Linked DNA regions of Homo sapiens: region 1 is linked to region 2. Evidence: promoter capture Hi-C in 16 types of primary human blood cells and fetal thymus (Javierre and others, 2016). All regions are on one chromosome and are shown on one strand. Each heading gives the region's core, a stretch centred on a gene start or on the middle of the fragment in contact. The rest is flanking DNA. Distances are from core to core; before and after follow the strand shown. Region 1 overlaps LOC105374039 (a long non-coding RNA gene). Region 2 holds the start of MORC1-AS1 (MORC1 antisense RNA 1).

What was found. Contacts are between HindIII fragments. The CHiCAGO score rates a contact against its expected background, and 5 or more counts as called.
Region 1: a fragment that was not itself captured here is called in contact with the fragment with the promoter of MORC1-AS1 in region 2 in 1 of 17 cell types (total B cells); the score reaches 6.7 in total B cells.

Annotation. Positions count from the first base shown.
Region 1 is chr3:111,520,138-111,525,276 of GRCh38, reverse strand. The region is part of intron 2 of LOC105374039 (a long non-coding RNA gene); the gene reads right to left. Among named protein-coding and RNA genes, the nearest start is that of CD96, 19 kb to the left of the region's middle. The HindIII fragment of the contact is 254 bases long and covers 2,520-2,773 here.
Region 2 is chr3:109,098,184-109,103,043 of GRCh38, reverse strand. It overlaps MORC1-AS1 (MORC1 antisense RNA 1), which reads right to left and starts at 1,588. Exons shown (of 3, transcript NR_144461.1): 1 at 1,485-1,588. MORC1 (MORC family CW-type zinc finger 1) reads left to right here. Exons shown (of 28, transcript NM_014429.4): 5 at 2,537-2,627; 6 at 3,578-3,686. The HindIII fragment of the contact is 2,885 bases long and covers 1-2,544 here.

The sequences.
Region 1 (5,139 bases), core at 1,397-3,896, 2.4 Mb before region 2:
AGGGAGCTGAACAAGCATTTCTGTGTGCCAGCCCAATGAAAATTTCTCCACACCTACCAAAGGGAATTGGGTTCCCACATGCACTTAGGAAAAAGAAAACCACATTGGTGTGCCAGATATCAGGGGAACCTGCCCCCAGTATTTAAACGTAGGTGCTTTCTATATTCCATAAGTGTCGGCTGGCTGAGAAATAAAGAGAAAGAATACAAAGAGAGGAATTTTATAGCTGGGCCACCGGGGGTGACATCACATGTCAGTAGGACTGTGATGCCCACCCGAGCCTCAAAACCAGCAGGTTTTTATTAAGGATTTCAAAAGGAGAGGGGATGTACGAACAAGGAATAAGTCACAAAGATCACATGCTTCAAAGGGCAAAAAGCAGAACAAAGATTACATGCTTCTGAGGAAACAGGACAAAGGGCAAAAGGCAGAACTTCTGATAAGGGTCTATGTTCAGTGATGCACATATTGTCTTGATAAACATCTTAACAGAAAACAGGGTTTGAGAGCAGAGAACCAGTCTGACCAAAAATTTACCAGGATGGAATTTCCCAATCCTAGTAAGCCTGAGGGTACTGCAGGAGACCAGAGCTTATCTTAGTCCTTATCTCAACCACATAGGGTAGACATTCCCAGAGCAGCCATTTATAGACCTTCCTCCAGGAATGAATTCCTTTCCCAGAGTATTAATATCAATATTCCTTGCTAGGAAAAGAATTTAGCGATATCTTCCCTACTTGCATGTCTGTTTATAGGCTCTCTGCAAGAAGAAAAATGTGGCTCTTTTTGCCCGACCCTGCAGGCAGTCAGACCTTATGGTTGTCTTCCCCTGTTTCCTAAAAATCAGTGTTATTCTGTTCCTTTTCAAGGTGCACTAATTTCATATTGTTCAAACACACATATTTTACCATGAATTTGTACAGTTAACACAATTATCATAGTGTTCCTGAGGTGACATACATCCTCAGCTTACAAAGATAACAGGATTAAGACATCAAAGTAAGACAGGCATAAGAAATTATAAAAGTATTATTAGGGAACTGATAACTCTCCCTGAAATCTTCATGATTTATGTTCCTCTGCCGTGGCTCCAGCCGATCCCTCTGTTTGGGGTCCCTGACTTCCTGCAGCAATGCTAAATCTCTCTAAGCCTCTGTGTTCTAGCATCTCTTAAATGGGTATGTGTGAAGACTGATGACATGTAAAGTGCCTGGCATCCAAGTAAGCCAGGTGCAAAACAAGCTATTCTTAGCATAAAATGCATAGTCCTTTTTGTTTTTCTAATGATAACAACAACTTTTGGCCAAAATGTTATTTTATATGAATTGCCTAATTCTTTCCTTGATGAAAACAAATGTGAACTTATTTTTCTTTCCCCGTATCAACTGTACAGATTCAAAAGAGCTGAAGAAGAGTGATCTGTATACTGGTTAGTGCCATCCATCATTAACCAAAGTTCCCAGCTCTGTTTTGGACCCCTAAGACAGTCAGTGATATATGGAACAAAAGGTGGTCAAAGAAAGTGATTTTCAGGCAAAGATTTGAGCTCACATCATGAACAATTTAGAAAGTCACCTTTTGCCCTAAGGAAGAAGTTGGGGAAATGGCAAAAGTGGCAGAACACTGCAATGTCATCTTTCTAAGCAATGTTATGTATGGGGTACAATTAGGAGCTTAGAATTTGGGTGGAAACAAACTTTAGCTTAGTATCTAGGATTTACCCAGCTTTTAGTTGAATGACCTTGGTCAAGTAACTTAAATTCTTTCAGCTTTAGTTTCCTTACATATAAAATTATGGTAATGACAATGCCTTCCTTCAAGATTGCTGTGAAAATTCAAAGGGATTACATATGTGAAAGTTTCTGGTGTAGTGTCTGGCCCATAGCACAGCTAACAAAGTCACAATAATGCTAAGAAAAGTAAGAAGCAAGAGAGAGGAGTCAAGGGAAGGAAGGCAGTTTCTAGATATAGCTCTCCTCCAACTCAGTGATGTTGGATAGATAGGTCATTTAATTTTCTGGGCTTGCATTTCCTCATTAGTAAAATGGTAAACTGCTAAAGATTACATAAATGAAAATGGCCTCCTAGTTCATTGATTCAATACGAGTTTAATAGTCATCACCAAATGACTTGGCCTGCCATTAAGTTATAAAATATAAGATTTCCATGAAATATATAGAAAATGATAGGCCATGTAAAACAGAAAATTATAATAAATTATATGAATAAATATCTTAGTTTTGGCAGATGTAGTCTGTAATCCCTTAATGCATTTTTTCTCCCTGAACTAAGGAGGTCTTTTCAATGCTCCTTAAAAAATCAATGCTGCAGTAAATTAATCACAGCCTGCTGCTGTGATTGGATTAATGAGAAGATCTTGCTAGGGCTTACATAAAAGTCTAAAGTAAACAGCTACCCAATACACAGATCTACTGGTTTGAGCACAGAAATGCTATAAAAATCTTAATAAATCCATCTGCTTAAAAGAAACAAAACCCCTTACTAAACAAGAAGAAGCTTCAACTTCAGATTCTCTGTCCTTTTGACCCCTTATCAATTTTGTTCAAATCAAATTTAAGTTTTATTAAAAGCATAGATCCCATAGAAGTCATAGGAAAGTTAGCCAATGCATCTGCCCCAGTTGCTTCCTGGGGTGATGACGACTCTAGACTCTTTAACATACATCAGATGAATGTCTAAATTTTCATCAAATTCACTTGTGAATTTAAAGAAGCCTCAGAACATTCAATATTGGAATCTTTTAAGCTAAGCTTGAGAAAGTCTCTTAAGCTTCCACTGTAATAGAAAGAAAGGTACAGCTAAGAAACTGAGTCCCCACTAATTTGCATGATTCAAGATGTTCAGCATAAAAGTTCAGGGAATGAGGAGTCAATATGCACTCAGAGGTTGCCATAATGCTCTGCTTTATCGTGTTTTACTTTCCCCACAAAGCAAGTGACAAAATGGGAATAAAGCCAGATGAATCTATTCTTATTAGATTGGGCCCACAATCTCATATTGGGTTTTAGATACTGGATTTCCTGCCAGCTTCTTGTATTGTCTGCTTATTGCTTTCAAGGAAGCCAGCAATGGCCTGGGATAACAGTGTGTCTGTGGTATGAGACATCTTAAATGGATGACACAATTTCCCTGGGCTCTGCTGCCAGTGGAGTTCCCTAAGCAAGTTAGTGTTTATGTGCTGCTGATGTTTGCGGGCCGGACAGGAATGATCTTTGCCTAGAATAATGATATCATCAAAGAAAGTGGGAACACAAAGATAAATATTCTTACAGATGACATTTACTCAGGGACCGTATTGTCTATCTGAGTGAGGAGCTGTTTTCTTTTGGTTAAGTTTCAAAGATTCTTTCTGCACTGATTTTCCCTCTCATTTCCTCTTATGTTGTTATGAAATACACTTGCCTTTGACGTATCCTTTATATCCAATTGTGGGATATTCCTCTTTCCCACATCAAATATGACATATGCTCCCCAAATCCACATGTTGTAGACTTGGTCCTTTAATAATTTTCTGACATAAACTTGATCTGTGTGGCTCAAGGCTTCAGTGTGACAAAACAATAAAGCACTTTTTTTTCCGTTTAAATTATACTTGAGCCTTGGTCTGGCTACTCTTCTTATAAATGTAAGTTTGATAATAAAAGTCCTAATGTTTGCTGATAGGTTGAAAAAAACCCAATATTTTTCATTAATTTAAATTTCAAAGACACTTCTGACATGGATGCCGAGAAAACAGGAGGCAATCAAATCAGTACAAAACCTAGATATTAGTAATGCTTTGTTAAAAATTAAAGTTCCTGGGGCTAGAAGTTGTGGATGGATGGGTAGGAAGAGAGAGGTGAGGGGGCACCACATCTCTTAACCAGAAGATTCCTTCATCTCCTATTAGCTCCTTCCAGGATTGCTGGTCCCCCTGGCATTAGCAGCTGACTGTCCCCTCTATCCAGCAGTGTCTTGCAGGACAAAGGCCAGCCTCACACCTGCTGCACTGGTCTTCACCTCTCTGTCCCAGCAATGCAACCACAGACCTATTGGGTAAAGCCCACCTGGCTGGAATGGAGGTTAGCTCTTTCCTCTCCTGACACCCTTTGCTCAGAAAGTGGGGCTTCTGTGGACCTTGGTCTGGCTTTCAGGGTAAGTCCAGGGCTGTGCTCTCTTGCCCCCATTCCTAACTCCATACACGCTTCTGTGGCTAGCCTTTTCCCATCTTCTTCGTAGGTGATTCCATCTTCTACTCTTGCAATCTTAACCTTTCAGCAGTCCTGTTTTCTTTCTTCTTTTATTCTCTGTCTACACTCCCAACTTCATTTATCACTAGTAAGTTCAAATATGCAGTGCCAGGGTAGTGGTGTGCACAGAGGCTAAACTTTAAGTCAGAAGGCAAAGAGGGAGAGGATTCTTTGGAGAAAAAAAAAGAGGATGAAAGATAGCAAGAGGGGGAAGCAGTTAAGTATTATTGGGATGAGACTTTTTTCATAAGACGAAATTTATATTAGGTTGTAGGAAGCAGAGAGTGAAGAGGAAGAGACTAATAATTCAAGAAACAGGAAAAAACTCACAGGGAAGTATTTGGGAGATTAAGAGAGTGCAATAGAGCACTGATGGGGTACGCAGACTGAATAGGGAAGTTTTTGCTCTATAGCAGGGTGGTTATCAGAGAAATTATGGTAAAATTGAGATGTGGAGAGTAAGAAAGTTGAAGTTCTGACTTGAACCTCCAACCTTATGTATAAATAGAAGGGAAGATGGGTTATTTGTGAAAATCAGTGAGGAAGGAGCCCTAAGGAAAGTGGAACAGGGAATTTTGGACTAGTTAGTGGGAGGATGGTGACAGGAGGCAAAAAAAAAATATTTCTGAGCATAGGTGAAAGTGTGACTGAAGATGAAGGGCTGACTTTGGACTGAAATCAACAGTACCTGGTGTTAGGGAGCAAGATAGGAGAATGCTGGATAGGAGGCTGCAACTTGGCCAGGTGGTGATGTTAGGAGGCTGAGGTGCCTAGGTACAAAAAGATGCGTGAAGACAATTAAATATGCTGACAATGGGGTCTATTGTCAAATATACTTAATTGCTTCCCCCTCTTGCTATCTCTCATTCTCTTTTTTTGTTCTCCAAAG
Region 2 (4,860 bases), core at 339-2,838:
GAAGATATGAGGTATGGCAAATATCTTATTTCAGCTCTGAAGTTTCCCCTTGGTCTGAATAGTTGAAGAGTATTAGCAAGTTTAGAAAGACTGTTTCACCCAGTTTTGTTCTGACTTCGGATAATTTTGATTTTTCCAGGTCATTTTGATTAAAAGTATTCTTGGTCTTTTATTGTTTAAATGAGAAAGAAGAGTTTGTAACAACAACAGAAAAAACCCATGCTGAAAAAAGTAATTTTTCACTTCTAGCCTGAATATTAAGTTCATTTTTTTGAATTCCTAAAATAAATGACAGAATATATGTGATATATTCTAAGGGAATTCCTTATGAAAAGAAGCAACTCTTTTTATATGGGTCATGAACAAAATGTTTGAAACACAGACAAGTGACGGATATTCAGACCTTCAGAAGGAACTCACACTTCAGTTACATAGTAGCATCAACTAGTAATAAAGTAGAAGGAAGATGACTAAAAGTAGAATCTATCCGTTGTTCAAACGGAGCTAGATCAATCTTGACCCATAGAAAATGACTACAGTACTTTCCGGGTTTTTAAAAAATTCTCTAGTCTTGCCCCTTTATAGTCCATTCCCCACACAGCATCCTGAGTGATTTTCTTTCTTTTAATGTACATTTTCCTGCTGAAAATGTACATTAATATCATTTTCCTGCTGAAAACCCTCAGTGGTTTTCCATTACTTAATACAATTTGTACTCTCAGCATCTCTTCCAAGACCTTACATTATTTGGCCCTATGCACCTCTTTGGCCTTTTCTTGTTCTTCCCACTTCCTCCCTTAGAACACTCCACCCACACATGGCTGACCCCTCATCGTTTGAATCCATCTCATGTTAACCATCTGCCAGTGGCCTTCCCTGATCATTCTGTCTGCAGGCCACGTTCCTGTTAATTCTCTATCGCATTACCCTGGTTTTGTTTTCTTCACTTAATACTCAGTCAGAAATGATCTTATTTATTAGTTTACTTTCAATCTGTTTCTCCTACCATGACATAGTGTTGTCCAAGGCAGGAGCCATGCCTGGCCTGTTCAGTGGTTTATTCCCATGCTCAGAACCGGGTAACCATGCACGTGAGTTCATGTAGTGTGTAATGAACACATGGGATTTGGTTCAGAGCTATACCATGTCTGTACCAAGACTTAGAACTTTGGGTTATAATCCTAGCTGTACCCTCTATCAGCTCTGTGACCTTGGGCAGGTTTTTAAAACTCCTTAGACTTACATTTGCTCATCTGTGACATGCAGGTCATAGTAATAATACCTTTCTTGTTTTGTTATAAATATTAAATAAGCTGTGCATGTAAGTATAAACATAGTACCTAGCATATACTAAACAATCAATAAGTGTTAGCTAAGATTGTCATTATGGATATCCTTACCTAATGCCTAACCCCTCATAGGAACATATCATAGGAGGTCCAGTTAGTTTCAGAGAAGCAGAATGTTTGGTGGCTTTTACACACCTCATACCATGTGCCACTGAACTATAGCATATCTGTACCCAGACTGACAGAGGGTCCTCAGGACAATTCTTCAGCATGTATTCAGGTAGGCCAACAAGAAGAACATTCTTGGTTCTGGAGATTGGTATTAATATATTCTGAAGTCCAGAGGATTACTGTCTAGAATTCCAGAATACCTGGAGAGGTCGGGAGAATGATTTGGAACGTCTGAAATGGTTAGCCTTCTTTCCCAGGTAGTATCAGAGCAGAGGTCATCCTGCCCCTCTTAGTCTCACATGGGCCTGGTTAAGGGCTAAATTCGTGGGGAAATTACTAGTGGTACAAGTAATTATAACACTTGTAATTTGGTAACACCCACCAAGTGCCAAGTTTTGTGTTCAGGATTTCACAAATACATCATCTCATTTCATTTGTTTCATTTATCTTCATCAGCAACACCGTGATATAAGTATTACGTAGTTGCCTCTTACACCACATGGAAATTAAGGCTCAGACTTTTAAACTCTACCTAAGGCCACATGGTTAGGTCTGTCTCATCTCTTTCAGTATACAGTTGTTTCTTAGTATCTGTAGGGAATGGATTCCAGGACCTTTCTAGGATACCAAAAGCTGTGGAAAGAAGATGGCACGGTATTTCCGTATAACCTATATATATCCTCCTGTATACTTTAAATCTTTTCCAGGTTCCTTATAATACCCAATGCAGTGTAAATGCTATTAAATAGTTGTTATACTTTGTTGTTTAGAGAATAATGACAAAAAAAAAGTCTGTACGTGGTCAGTCCAGACGCAATTTATTTTTTTCTGAATATTTTCAGTCCAAGATTAGTTGAGTCTATGAATGTGGAGCCTGCCGTACCTTGGGCTGACTGTAATACCATTAAGACCCTTGTCAGAGACTGTGGATTCTGATGAAAATCCTTGTCTCTGGGCTGACCCAAGAGCTATGGGTTTGTCCTGATGTTCTGAGGAATGTGAGGTCCTGACAGCTGGGCCTCAGGCCAGTGTCAAAGAGTCTTCCTAACCACCTTAAAAGTCACTGTCAATTACAGAGGAAGCTTCAGACATCATTTACTTTGGACGATCCAAAAAACGGCTGTCAACCTTGAAGTTCATAGGGCAATACGGCAATGGTCTTAAAAGGTGAGAATTTTTTTTCCCTTAAGACATATATTATTGATACTGGGAACACTGTTTATAAAGCAATTTACACAGAATGATGCAGGCATGTAAAGCTTTAAAAAATATATAAACTTGAGGCAGGGGTGACCTACTTTGTGTTGGAATCTCCATATACAAAACTGACTTTTTTTTTTTGAGACAGATTCTCACTCTGTCACCCTGGCTGGAGTGCAGTGGTGCGATCTTGGCTCACTGCAACCTCCGCCTCCTGGGTTCAAGTGATTCTCCTGCCTCAGCCTCCTGGGCAGCTGGGATTACAGGCATGAGCCACCATGCTCAGCTAATTTTTGTATTTTTGTAGAGACAGAGTTTCACCATGTTGGCCAGGCTAGTCTCGAACTCCTGACCTCAAGTAATCAGCCCGCCTCGGCCTCCCAAAGTACTGGAATTACAGGCATGAGCCACCACGCCCGGCCCATAACTGACTTTTATCTTTACAACATTTTAGGTTAATTCTCCCAAATAATAAAATAAATCCTCTTTCAAAGATTCCTGAAGCGGTACCCCTGTACTTTAGTGCTTTGTTGCATCTCTATGTTCTGTTGTTTCCCAAAGCATATTTTAACCTAGGTGCTGTGTCTGCAGCTCTTTGTTTTAGTATGCTGCATTGAAAGGTCAGGACATGAGGCTCACTTGTACGGCTCCTACCTGAGACAGATGATTGTTCTTTTGAGCCCTGAATGGACCCTTTCCCCTGCAGCCAAACCTCAAGCAAGAGTGTGGAGCTGGCTTAGTTCAAATTCTTCTGCTTTACTTTGAAAAAAAAAAAATTGTACCCTCTTGATGACGGGTCAGCAGAACAGAGTGTTGGAAAGAACATCCTGTTACAGTACACGGTGATAACAGTCTGCCTGTTTCTTCCTTTTTAGTATTTGAGGTGTAAAACATGATGTTCTTCATTTTTAATATAGTGGGTCCATGAGAATTGGAAAAGACTTTATTCTTTTTACGAAGAAGGAAGAAACGATGACCTGTGTGTTTTTTTCTCAGACATTCTGTGAAGAAGAAAGTCTTAGTGAGGTAAGAGTTGAAGTTTTCCTTCTGTTCCCATAGCAATGATGTTGCTTTCATTTACTCTCTCAGGAGGTGAAGTCTTGTCATGGGTTCTTTCTGATATTATTTAGAAACTTAGGAATATGTTTGGGAAATGGAGAGAAGGTATCAAGACATTCTGGGGACATCAAAGACCTGTCCTCTTGACCCTTTCCTGAGAACTTCATTTTCATTATCCATGTGCTCAAATCTCCCAAAGTAAGAGGCTCCCTTAGACATGATGAGCTTTTTAGAAGAAACCTGCAAAATCTTTCCACCATATATGCCATAAATTGATTATCATTTTAAAAATAAATAAAATATTGGAGTCAAAGACTTGGAATACAAAATGTAAAGAAATTAATGCAAAATAGACTTAAAACTGTAACTCTGGTGACCATAATTTCAACTCCATTTGCTGATCCAGAGGCATTTTATTAATTACCAGTGCCTGAGTTTTATTATTATGGCTGTCAGTTATAATTCAATATAACAAATACATGTTGAGGAACTACTCTCTGCCTAGTACTGGATAGACTCTATGAAGGTAGAAAAGAAGCAGAAGGTCATATGGCCATCTAAGAGTCTTCAGCTTTATCACAAAATAAGGTAGACACATATGAATTGGATAAAAAAGTGAGGGTATTTAAAAAGAATGCTCCTCAATGAGTCTGTGTGGCTACTGTTACCAGATTATCAAAAGCAATGATATGGATGGAGAGATAGAGGGCCTCGAGTGCCCAATGAGGGTTTTATGGAGAGAGTACAACTTGCAGCCGGAAAAGCTGGTACTGGAGATTAATGGCCTCAGCAAGTCTCAGACCTGGAGATGCATATGGAGTTTGGATGGACGGTGTAGGACTGTGAGACTGCCAGTGGGTGGAGCTGGGTGACAGGAGCAGTCTGCAGGTAAAAAGGAGTAAGCCGTGTGGGAGCCTGACCTGAGGAAAAGTGATGCTGTAAGCATTTATGTTGCATGTTATGTGTGTAAAGGGCATGGAAAATTGGGCTAACCCTTAATTATAGCTTTCTTAAAATGGGCCATTCCCTTTTTTAAAAAAAACTAAAAACAGCAACCACTTCCCATTTCTACTTCCACAGAGACAACCTCTTAACAACAATATTAACAAGTTCTAGCTGGGCACGGTGGAGTGCATCTGTA